2 separate regions of the Homo sapiens genome follow, and region 2 is linked to region 1. The links are contacts of gene promoters, found by promoter capture Hi-C in human tissues and cell types (Jung and others, 2019). All regions are on one chromosome and are shown on one strand. The core of a region is centred on a gene start or on the middle of the fragment in contact, and the rest is flanking DNA. Distances in the headings are between cores, read along the strand shown. Region 1 holds the start of SMIM15 (small integral membrane protein 15). Region 2 overlaps LOC105378994 (a long non-coding RNA gene).

What was found. The method cuts DNA at HindIII sites, captures the fragments that hold promoters and counts their contacts. A contact is called where the count stands out against the background at its distance.
Region 2: a fragment that was not itself captured here is called in contact with the fragment with the promoter of SMIM15 in region 1 in 1 of the 25 tissues and cell types used here (mesenchymal stem cells).

Annotation. Positions count from the first base shown.
Region 1 is chr5:61,159,809-61,164,582 of GRCh38, forward strand. SMIM15 (small integral membrane protein 15) reads right to left here and starts at 2,660. Exons shown (of 3, transcript NM_001048249.4): 1 at 2,409-2,660; 2 at 1,280-1,419; 3 at 1-391. The coding sequence starts at 363. The coding sequence ends at 139. It overlaps SMIM15-AS1 (SMIM15 antisense RNA 1), which reads left to right and starts at 2,508. Exons shown (of 4, transcript NR_109908.1): 1 at 2,508-2,718. RefSeq lists enhancers at 1,827-2,723, 2,209-2,288, 2,359-2,618, 3,149-3,248, 3,289-3,348 and a silencer at 2,799-2,908. The HindIII fragment of the contact is 13,088 bases long and covers 1-4,774 here.
Region 2 is chr5:61,322,003-61,326,776 of GRCh38, forward strand. All of the region lies in intron 1 of LOC105378994 (a long non-coding RNA gene), which reads right to left. Among named protein-coding and RNA genes, the nearest start is that of ZSWIM6, 7.9 kb to the right of the region's middle. The HindIII fragment of the contact is 5,952 bases long and covers 1-4,774 here.

The DNA.
Region 1 (4,774 bases), core at 1,410-3,909:
ATGATTCTTCCATTTGGTCAAATTTCATTTACTAAATCATACTGTCAAGAAATCCAAAGAAGAAACTTTAGTGGATTCTTCCAAAGCTGTGTAATTTTCCAAATGATTTTCCTCTGGTTGCAAAGCCTGTTCAGTCCTTCAATCCTTTTTTAGTCGTTTAGCTTTTGCAATGTTTTCTTGGCGTTTTTGCTTCTTCTTTTGCTCCTTCTCCCTGGCCTCAATCATCTTGGCCAATTTCCAAGACAGTACAGCACTTGCTAGGAACAGTGGAGTAAGGGCCAAAATAACGGTTGTAAGGAAGCCATAGGGGTCCTTTGCAGCCCATTCCACAACATACTCAGCCCAAGCCTTTATATCAAACATCTTCACAGCAGTCTTATGAAAACTGGGGCTGGGGGAGGCGGGTGGAGAACACAGAGGAAAAAAACAGGAGAAAAGACTATGTGGTTAATCAAATTTTGAAAAAGTTTCCTCACACAACCAGTTAACTCAGGATTCCATTATCACTCAGTTTGCTTTTTTAAAAAGTACAACTTAGTACTATTGTAATAAGGACTAGTATCTCTGGTTAGGAAAAAGTAATTCATCTAGTACAGCCAGAATAGTGACACTTCAAAGAGGTAAAGTTATAGAAGATTTAAAAAAGCCATGTGACTCTGTCATAAGGACTATGCATTCTCACATGCCTCCTATATTCAAGACAAACTTTATTTAGGAGGAGGCTTTTATAAAAATCTTGAGTTTTCTGTGGTCATTCCAGGAAACAGCTGAATACAGTTTGTCATTTTTTGACATATCCTTAGTATTACTAATTAACAAAAATACAAATCAGCAAATTTGGTGTTTGAAAAGGACAAGCAACAGAGCATGTGAAATGCTCGCAGAGAAGGAGAGATGACTATTTCCCCGAATGGGAAGGAGAGGGTAAGGGAGTCATGACATCGCATTAATATGCCAAAGAAGCAAAAAGTACTGTGCTATTTTATGCCCTTTCAGCTTTGAGGACCTCTGTTGGAATAAGCCTAATTTAATAAATGAGAAAGTAGCCTTAACAGATGCCATGTGTTTTGTTCCTTTTTGAGTGTAAGGAAAAGGCAACTGGCAAATGAGGATTATGTGACTTGAGTGACGTTTTCTATTTTGCCCCAGAGGCTTTTCTCCCTTTCATGTTTGTGTCAACCGCTATTCAAAGTGGAGAATTAGAATACCTGGGTAGGGAATGAGTGTATATACATCCACTTACAATTTCAACTGGAATTTTTTTAAAAAAATCATCTACCTTATGCTTGAGTAGTGATCCCTTAACTTTGTCCTGGTGTTATTAGTGACCCAATCACGACTTCAGATGACCCTTGGTAGTCTGTCTTCTTGAGTTCTACTGTACACATCTGAGAGACGGTTTAAATTCTGTACAATTGGCTAGTTGGAAAGAATACAAAAAATAAAACAAAATTTAAGTCACAATTTCAGGATAATTGTAATAAAATTTTAAATGGAAAATTTCTATATTGTATATATGCAACCTATATGACATCTAAAATTGCCTATCCGGTATAGTAACTTAATACGTTTCTTCCTCATTTGAATTTACAATTGCAAATGCCCTGTAAGAAAATCCTAATTACTGGAAATCAAGTATTTTACTAAGTTACTTATTTCAATAATAAAATTTTTTTAGTTCATTGACATACGGGAGACAAGTTGGCTCACTGACTGACTTACACAGCGTATCCGTTCCTAGATTTTCAATTTTTATACTAAAAATGTTGCCACTCATTTATTTACTGGATTAGGTACACCACTACAAAATCAAACAGCTCATCTTACTCTTTATAAAGGTTTTTTTGGGTCCATCATACAATTTGTGTCCTTTACTTAAAAAATTAGAAGACATAACCAAACAAATTATAGTAATTCACCCACAGTCCCATTACCCCAAGAAAACTGTGACTAGTTTTAATTATATCTTCCCCACGATTTTCAACTGAACACACATGAAAGTGCCTAATACGTTAAATATCTTAGCTCCTGGACTTCATACGACCTCACCCATACAGTTAGAATTAGGTACTACTGAGATCGATCTGCCTTCACCTTCTCCAGCCCAGTAGCGAATAAACAATGTAAGTTTCAGAAATAAGCAAAAGAACTTTGCAGTAAAAGAGCCATGGTCCACAGGCCACACATCTCCCTGCAACTCAACTTCGGACCCAAACGCTCGCGCCTCCACACTTTCAGGAATAAATCCTACTCTTCCGCCCAAAACGGATCGACCAGGCTCGATCTCCCAACCAGACCCGCGTGGCCCCTGCGGCTGCAACGGGTAGCACTTGACGGCCGTCCGCACTTCCTCCTTTGTCTTTCCCTTATTCCTTACGTTTCTCCCTTGCTCACTCTTCCCTCCTTACCCTATCGGGGCTGCAGACCCACGGAGGCCACGTTCACTCCTGCCCGTCGGCCTTGGCAAGCGCGGGCCCCTTGTCGCGCAGAGCGGAGGGTCCTGGGAGATCCTGGGTTGGCCCAGCCACACCTTGCGCCGCCGCCGTTTCTGCTGGACACCAGGAGAAAACCACGGCAGCTGCAGCCACCAACTTCCCCTACATAGCCCCACGGGATCGGATCCCACTCCCCACTCACCGCCAGACCGGAAGCAGGAAGGCGGAAGTCGCGGCCTTTGCGTCCCGCCCACAGGCGACCCGAGCCGCCAGCCGGGCGTGAGTAAGTCTAGGGCCCAGTTTCCGGCTGCGCCATTGCTGTGTGGGTCTTGGGACCTCGAGTTGGAGGACGCGGGAGGGTGGGGGCGGGGGCAGGGCAGCGCTGAGATTTCCGGGGAGCGGCAGGTGAGGCCGCGCGGGGCGGGTGACGGCACCCGGGCGGGCTCCTTTCCAGGCTGGAGCCCGAGACTGCCACGTCCTGCGGGGACCAAGTGGTGGGCGAGGAGGCGTGGAGCGGCTTCAGGACTCGAGGAGCGGTTCCGAAGCAGCTAGGGACTTTTGCCTTTGCCCCCCGAGGTCGATCGGAAGACAACCCCCATCCCCTGCTGTAGCGGGACAGTTGGAGGGTCATGGGTGGGTGAAGTGTTTGGCTGAGGGAAACTCAGACCAAAGAGCAGCGGCAAGAAAGCAGTTGGGTCCCCACAAAACGCCCGAAGTCAAGGTGAGGGTCACACAACGACTCTTGACGATTCCGGCGAGTTCATCCTGGTGCACATCCCACTCCATGCCTCTCTCTTCTGGTTGGACAATAGTTACATCCTTACGAAAAGGAGGCAAGCTACTGGGCCTTGGTGGATCCACTCAACCTTGTTACCAAGGGACATGCCGCCATGCTATGTGAAAAGGGGGGTTTTGTTGTTTGTTTTTAATTTAAGTATCTAATTCGTTTCACGAAAGAATGATCAATACCGGCCCAGAGTAAACTTGATAAGTAATTAAACTGTCAGGGCATAGAGTTCCCATAGAGGTGCTTGTTCTTTCAATACACAAATAAAGGGATGCAAAAGTCAACATGCAGAAAGGGTGAGTTAATATTGTCTTCTAATCTACAGGAACTGAAAGATTAGCTAATCTGGTTTGGTTGGTGACCAAATTTTGTGATTGCTTGCACTGTTTGACTACCTCTGACAAATGTTGCAAGACCTCTTCACTGATTCTCCAAAGACTATAGAATGTTCTCTTTCAGGAGCAAGCTGCGACATGTTTAACTAGTTTAGGTAAAACAACAATAACTGTTATTTACCAGGGAACAGGCTTTTGGCAGATAATCTAACGATCTACGATACTGTTCGTTGGGCATATGTTAATGTTTGTAATGTTGTATTACCAGCAGTTGTTTTCTTACTCCTTTTTATTTGAAAACCTGGATGATAGTTTCAAAGCCTATGCTGCTTAGGCCTAGCCTGTACCTTAGTAGCCAGAAAAAGTAGACTCAGTCACTGGATTGTGTGCACTGAATACTTACTTGAGATAACTGATTTTTCTAAAACTTCCCCAAGTCTTGAATCCAAGATGTGGGCAGAATGTATTATTTTAACATCCTTCGTTCCAGAGGCCAATGCGTGTTTTATTTTAATCATGATAGGTGGTTTTCCCAGTTACTGCCTCCGGATACTTGCAGTGCTGCATCCCTAGTTAAAAGCCCAGAAGTCTTGGGCAGGAAGGAAGGGCATATAAAGAGAAAGCCTTTGTAGTTCTTTAGCTGTAATCTAGACCAGGGGTCCCCAACGACGGACTGGTACCTGGTTTGCAGCCTGTTAGGAACGGGGCCGCACAGCAGGAGGTGAGCGATGGGTGAGTGAGCATTTCCGTCTAAGTTCCGCCTCCTGTCAGATCAGCAGCATCATTAGATTCTCATGGTGCGAACCGTAATGTGAACTGCATGTGCGAGGGATCTAGGTTGTGCGCTCCTTATGATAATCTAATGCCTGATGATCTGAGGTGGAACAGCTTCATCCTGAAAGCATCCCCCATCCCCGTCCATGGAAAAATTGTTTTCCACGAAACCAGTCCTGGATGCCATTAAGGTTGGAGACTGCTGATCTAGACCATGCCTTTACAATCTAAGTTTGCTCATCTAGCTTCAAGTTACAGGACAGTCTGCAAGACCAGGAACAGCATAGGGGTTGCCACAGTGGAGCTCCTTACTGCAGTCTGCATTGCCTTAACTAAAGGTGGTGTCAGGATTGATTCAAATACTGTGAACTACTTTCCATAAAGAGAAGTCTGAGCTCGTGAACTGAGATTCACAGTTGTGGTACAGTAATGTTATGTATACT
Region 2 (4,774 bases), core at 826-3,325, 160 kb after region 1:
TGTCTGGTCAAGTTTTCTGTGGATATTAGCAACTATCAAGTATGAAGATTATAGAACAACAAAAAAAGCAACATTACATGTTTATGTCTTGCTCTGGAAGTCGAGATTTTTATTTCCTTGTGAAATAGATAATAAAAAAATAAAATTAACAATGTATATACACCATGGTTCTTTGTAACCCGAGTGTCACAAAGAGCTCTATAAAATATCTGAAGTGCTTGAGGTTGCCTAGAGGGAAAAGGTAAAGATTCTCACTACAGAGCTAATAGTTCCTGCTCAACAATTTGAATTTCACTTAAGAATAAACCTGAGAGCCCACATCTGGGAGAGCATGTTTACCTTTAATGTAGCAGTTTGGAGGTGGAGGCATTCCTGGAAGAGAACAATGCCTGATGCATTATAGGCACAAAAATAAAGATTTGTTGATGACACCGAAGCCCTGCCTCCACACCAACATTCTCTCAATTCACAAATACTATCAAAGGAAGAAAACTCTAGAACTCCATTAGAGTGGATATCTCCCCGCTCTTAATCTCCCAGAGATCATTGTTTCCTATTTCCATGGAAACTAGAAGACTTGAAATTGCCAAAACTTGAGAGACACTTGAGATGAAAGCCAGAAAAAAAAAATTAACAAAAGACAAATGTTACAGGCAGCATGTATGACAGTGTGGTAAAGTTTCTGACATTTGTTTGGGAAGATTTTCTTATTTCTTTGCTTGGAAGAATGCAATGATTTCCAGAATGTGGCCATAATAGCTTCACACCATGCTGCTGAATGTTCATCGAGTAGATTTTACTCTTTTCTAGAAAGGAAAGGAAAGACCCATGGGCCTTGGCAGCAATCAAGTGAATGTTAAGCTGTTGGAAATTGCTCTCCTGGCACACCTTGATGTTAACCACAATGAGGAGGCCAGTCTGGCTGAAGTGCCCTTGCTCCCTCCCTTCCATGCAGTGAACAAATATTTATTGAGCACCTACTATTCTCCAGGTAATGTGTCCTACATACAACTAAATGAAAAATTACAACTCAGATAAGAGCCCCTAGGAGAAGTACACGTAACTACTAGAGTGTGTAATAGACAGAACTGACCTGTCAGGGCGGCCAGGCTTTCCTAAGGAAGTGTGATTAAGCCGAGCAGGAGGAAACTAGGCAGTGGTTGTGGGGCCTGGGGAAGGAGAACATTCCAGGGAGCAGGAACTCTTGGGCAAAGGCCTCTGGAGGAAGTGAGTGTTAAAGGAATTGAAAGTAGGCCTGAGTAGCCTGTGTTGGCAGAGCTCCAGAGAGCAAAGGGAATGAACTTGGGGTAAGGCCATTTGGAGAGGTGGGCAGGGACCAGGTCATTCCTAATGCACAGTCTTGAGTCTTGCAGGGCAGGCTTGTTAAGGATTTGGTTTCTAACCCTCCCCTCTCCAGGGTGAACTCAAGCTGTCATAGGAGTGCATGGCATACAGTCCTTGTGTGTGACCTGGGAATGCAGATTTTGTTTCATCTGAAATCTGTCAAAACATTGCCATAGATTTCAGAAGTGAACCACCAAGTTCCAAAGGTTATAATTTCATTAAATGCTTTAAACCTAAATCATGTTCAGTAAATATTATTTTACACATGATGATTCAGTAGGCATCTTGGACTCATCATCACAAATGTCAATTATCATCCTATATTAACCCCTCAGAAGCCAGAGTTTGGTCATCTAATAACTTCTCCATTTTCTGGGACCTAGCTGGAATCTAGGAAGTCTGCAAGAGGCAAAATAAATGTGACAAAGATCGTGTACATTTTAACCAGGTGGGAGATTCTCATTAAGAACTTCGCTGATTTTACTTTACACATAATTGTAGAAATAAGGTTCTCCGGGTTCAGAGGCTACAACATGGGGAGAGCAATAATTCAGAAAGTGAGAAGCGACATTATGGGTGGTTATATGACAATAATTAACAGTAAGAGGGGCTAGGCATGGAGGTACATGCCTGTAGTCTTAGCTACTCAGGAGACTGAGGCAGGAGAATCACTTGAGCCCAGGAGTTTGAGTCCAGCCTCGGCAATACAGCAAGATCGACTCTAAATAAACAACAAAAAAGTGAAAGTAACAGGAAATAGCACAACTGTAAAGGCTGAGACCAACAAACCAAAACAAAACCTAGAACAAACTAAATAAAAAATGGAGGGAAAAGAAGGGAAGGGAAAGAAGGGGAAAGAAGGGAAGGGGAGGGGAGGGAAGTGGGGAGGGAAGGGAAGGGCAAAAGAAATAAAGAGAAAAAGAGAAGAAAAACCAAGCCAGCAATCTGGGTTTTTTGTTATGAACAAGCAACCTTGCGTACCTTAGTAGCTCTTAAGGGCATCATTGTGTTTATAATCAGTCCTTATAATATGCTTAAGAAGTCAAAGAAGTGTGTCATGTTTTAGAAAGATTTCTAGTGTGCAGGGTTAAGCCTGTATTTTTATTTTATTTTGAGACAGAGTCTCACTCAGTCACCCAGAATGGAGTGCAGTGGCGTGATCTCAGCTCACCGCAACCTCTGCCTCCCAGGTTCAAGCCGTCTTGTGCCTCAGCCTCTGGAGTAACTGGGATTACAGGTGCTTGCCACCAAGCCCAGCAAATTTTGTGTATTTTTAATAGAGACAGGGTTTTGCCATGTTGGCCAGGCTGGTCTCAAACTCCGGGCCTCAAATGATCTGCCTGCCTCGGCCTCCCAGAGTGCTGGGATTACAGGTGTGAGCCACCACACATAGCCCCGTTAAGCTTTTAAAAAGATTTTTGGGCCAGGAGCAGTGGCTCATGCCTGTAATCCCAACACTCTGGGAGGCCAAAGCGGGCGGATCACCTGAGGTCGGGAGGTGAAGACCAGCCTGACCAACATGGGGAAACCCCATCTCTACTAAAAATACAAAATTAGCCGGGAATGGTGGCGCATGCCTGTAATCCCAGCTACCTGGGAGGCTGAGACAGGAGAATCGCTTGGACCCCAGAGGCGGAGGTTGTGGGAAGCCGAGATCGCTCCATTGCACTCCAGCCTGGGCAACAAGAACAAAACTCTGTTTCAAAAAAAGAGATGTTTGGTCCTTAAAAAGTACAACTTCAGCTCTTTGGGAAACCTGTCCAATCTGGGTGGTTTTCACAAAAGTTCTGCATAACCATGGTTTTATTGCAACGTGATTCCGTGGGGGTGTGAGTTAATATAGATTTCACGTTGAAAAATGTCTGATACACCAGCTTTTACTGAAACCTCTTCATTTTCACAAGTTATCTAATTCTGGATTTGAACAAAGTCATTGGAAGTGACATTTTTCACATCTGAATTGTCATGATTCCTTTCTTGACAGGGAGTGAATTCTTGAATATTTAAAAATACTGTAGGTGATAAAATGCCGTTAATAAATTTGTTTCAGAATTTGGCTTTCATGTTTAAAATTTTAATTTTCATGTATCTTAAATGCAAATAATCTTTATCTAGGCATAAGGTGCCCCCTAAAGTTACCTGGCTGTCTAGATTTTACATCTTTACTTCCTCCAAATAGGAATGAGAATGAACAAAGTACTATTTGATCACTTTGAAAAATGCTCATTCTATATCCTTACAAAGTGAATTTTGGAATGACATTACTTTCTGTAAATACATCCTTCATACATGTCAGAGCACCTTTTGTCTCCCTAGAGAATATGTCTTAAACCTCTTTTTCTTGTACCATCTCACATTATCAGAGATATCTGCAAGAGAGTGACCTAGTAGGGTGAGGCAATTTTGAGAAAATCATTAATTTTCTAAATTATGATTCTCTATACTAACACTTTTTTAGTGTTTAAAAGTGGGAGTTTTTTCCTAGTTAACACAGGTAAATAAATACTGAAATAAATGTCTTTACATTATCCTATTAAATAGATTAAATAGTATTCTTTTGTTTATCCTGTGACAATCTTAACAAAATAGTTCATAAAAAGTTAGTTATTTAAAAGGGGAAATATTAAGGTTATAAGGAAATGTGGCATTTCCTATTTCTTTTGGCCATCACTGGGTTCTAAGCCTGTTTTGAAGCCTGATGAACCTTCCAGTTTTAAGATGTTTTCATTTAATAAGATCCTCACCATTGCACTTTGCATTGGAGTAACTAACAGAATGATAATAGCCTGGTAACTTTTACTAATATTTAAATGGTATAGAGACTATACGCTAAAATGTTTTTCTTTTCTGAAAATTGACACACGCAAATTATTTAATATTTAATGAAAGCAAATCTCTTTTACTTCTTGAGGGTAGAATTATTGCCCAAATCACAACATTTAAAACAAATTCATTTGTAAGCAATTTTGCCAGCCTGGTTTTTTGGTATATATTGAGATGCAATAATTTATTTTTCAAAATTCCAGCTTGTAACTTTAAAGGCTTCCATCTAAACAGAATACACTGTTCTTAGAAGCAGGTTGGAAAAGATTGGTTGATTGATCAGTGGTTGAATATATTTTCTTATAATTCAGCACATTTTAGAAGGGGACATCTTAAGGAATGAAATAGTGTGGGTTACTGAGTGACAATGTGGTGTGGAATATGATATTTCCCAATTTTGCCTATTCTGAAGAATTATCCAGGGCATGGGTTAAAAAGATAGATTCCAAGCTCCACCCCAGCCCTGCTGAATCAGAATCTCCAGGGGAGAGGTAAAGGAAATGTATATTTTTAACAAGTGCTCAGGGTGATTCTTATGACCTGACAAGTTTGGGAAATACTGGATAATGGAAAAAAATTCTGGCTTTAGAGTGAGACCGACAGAACT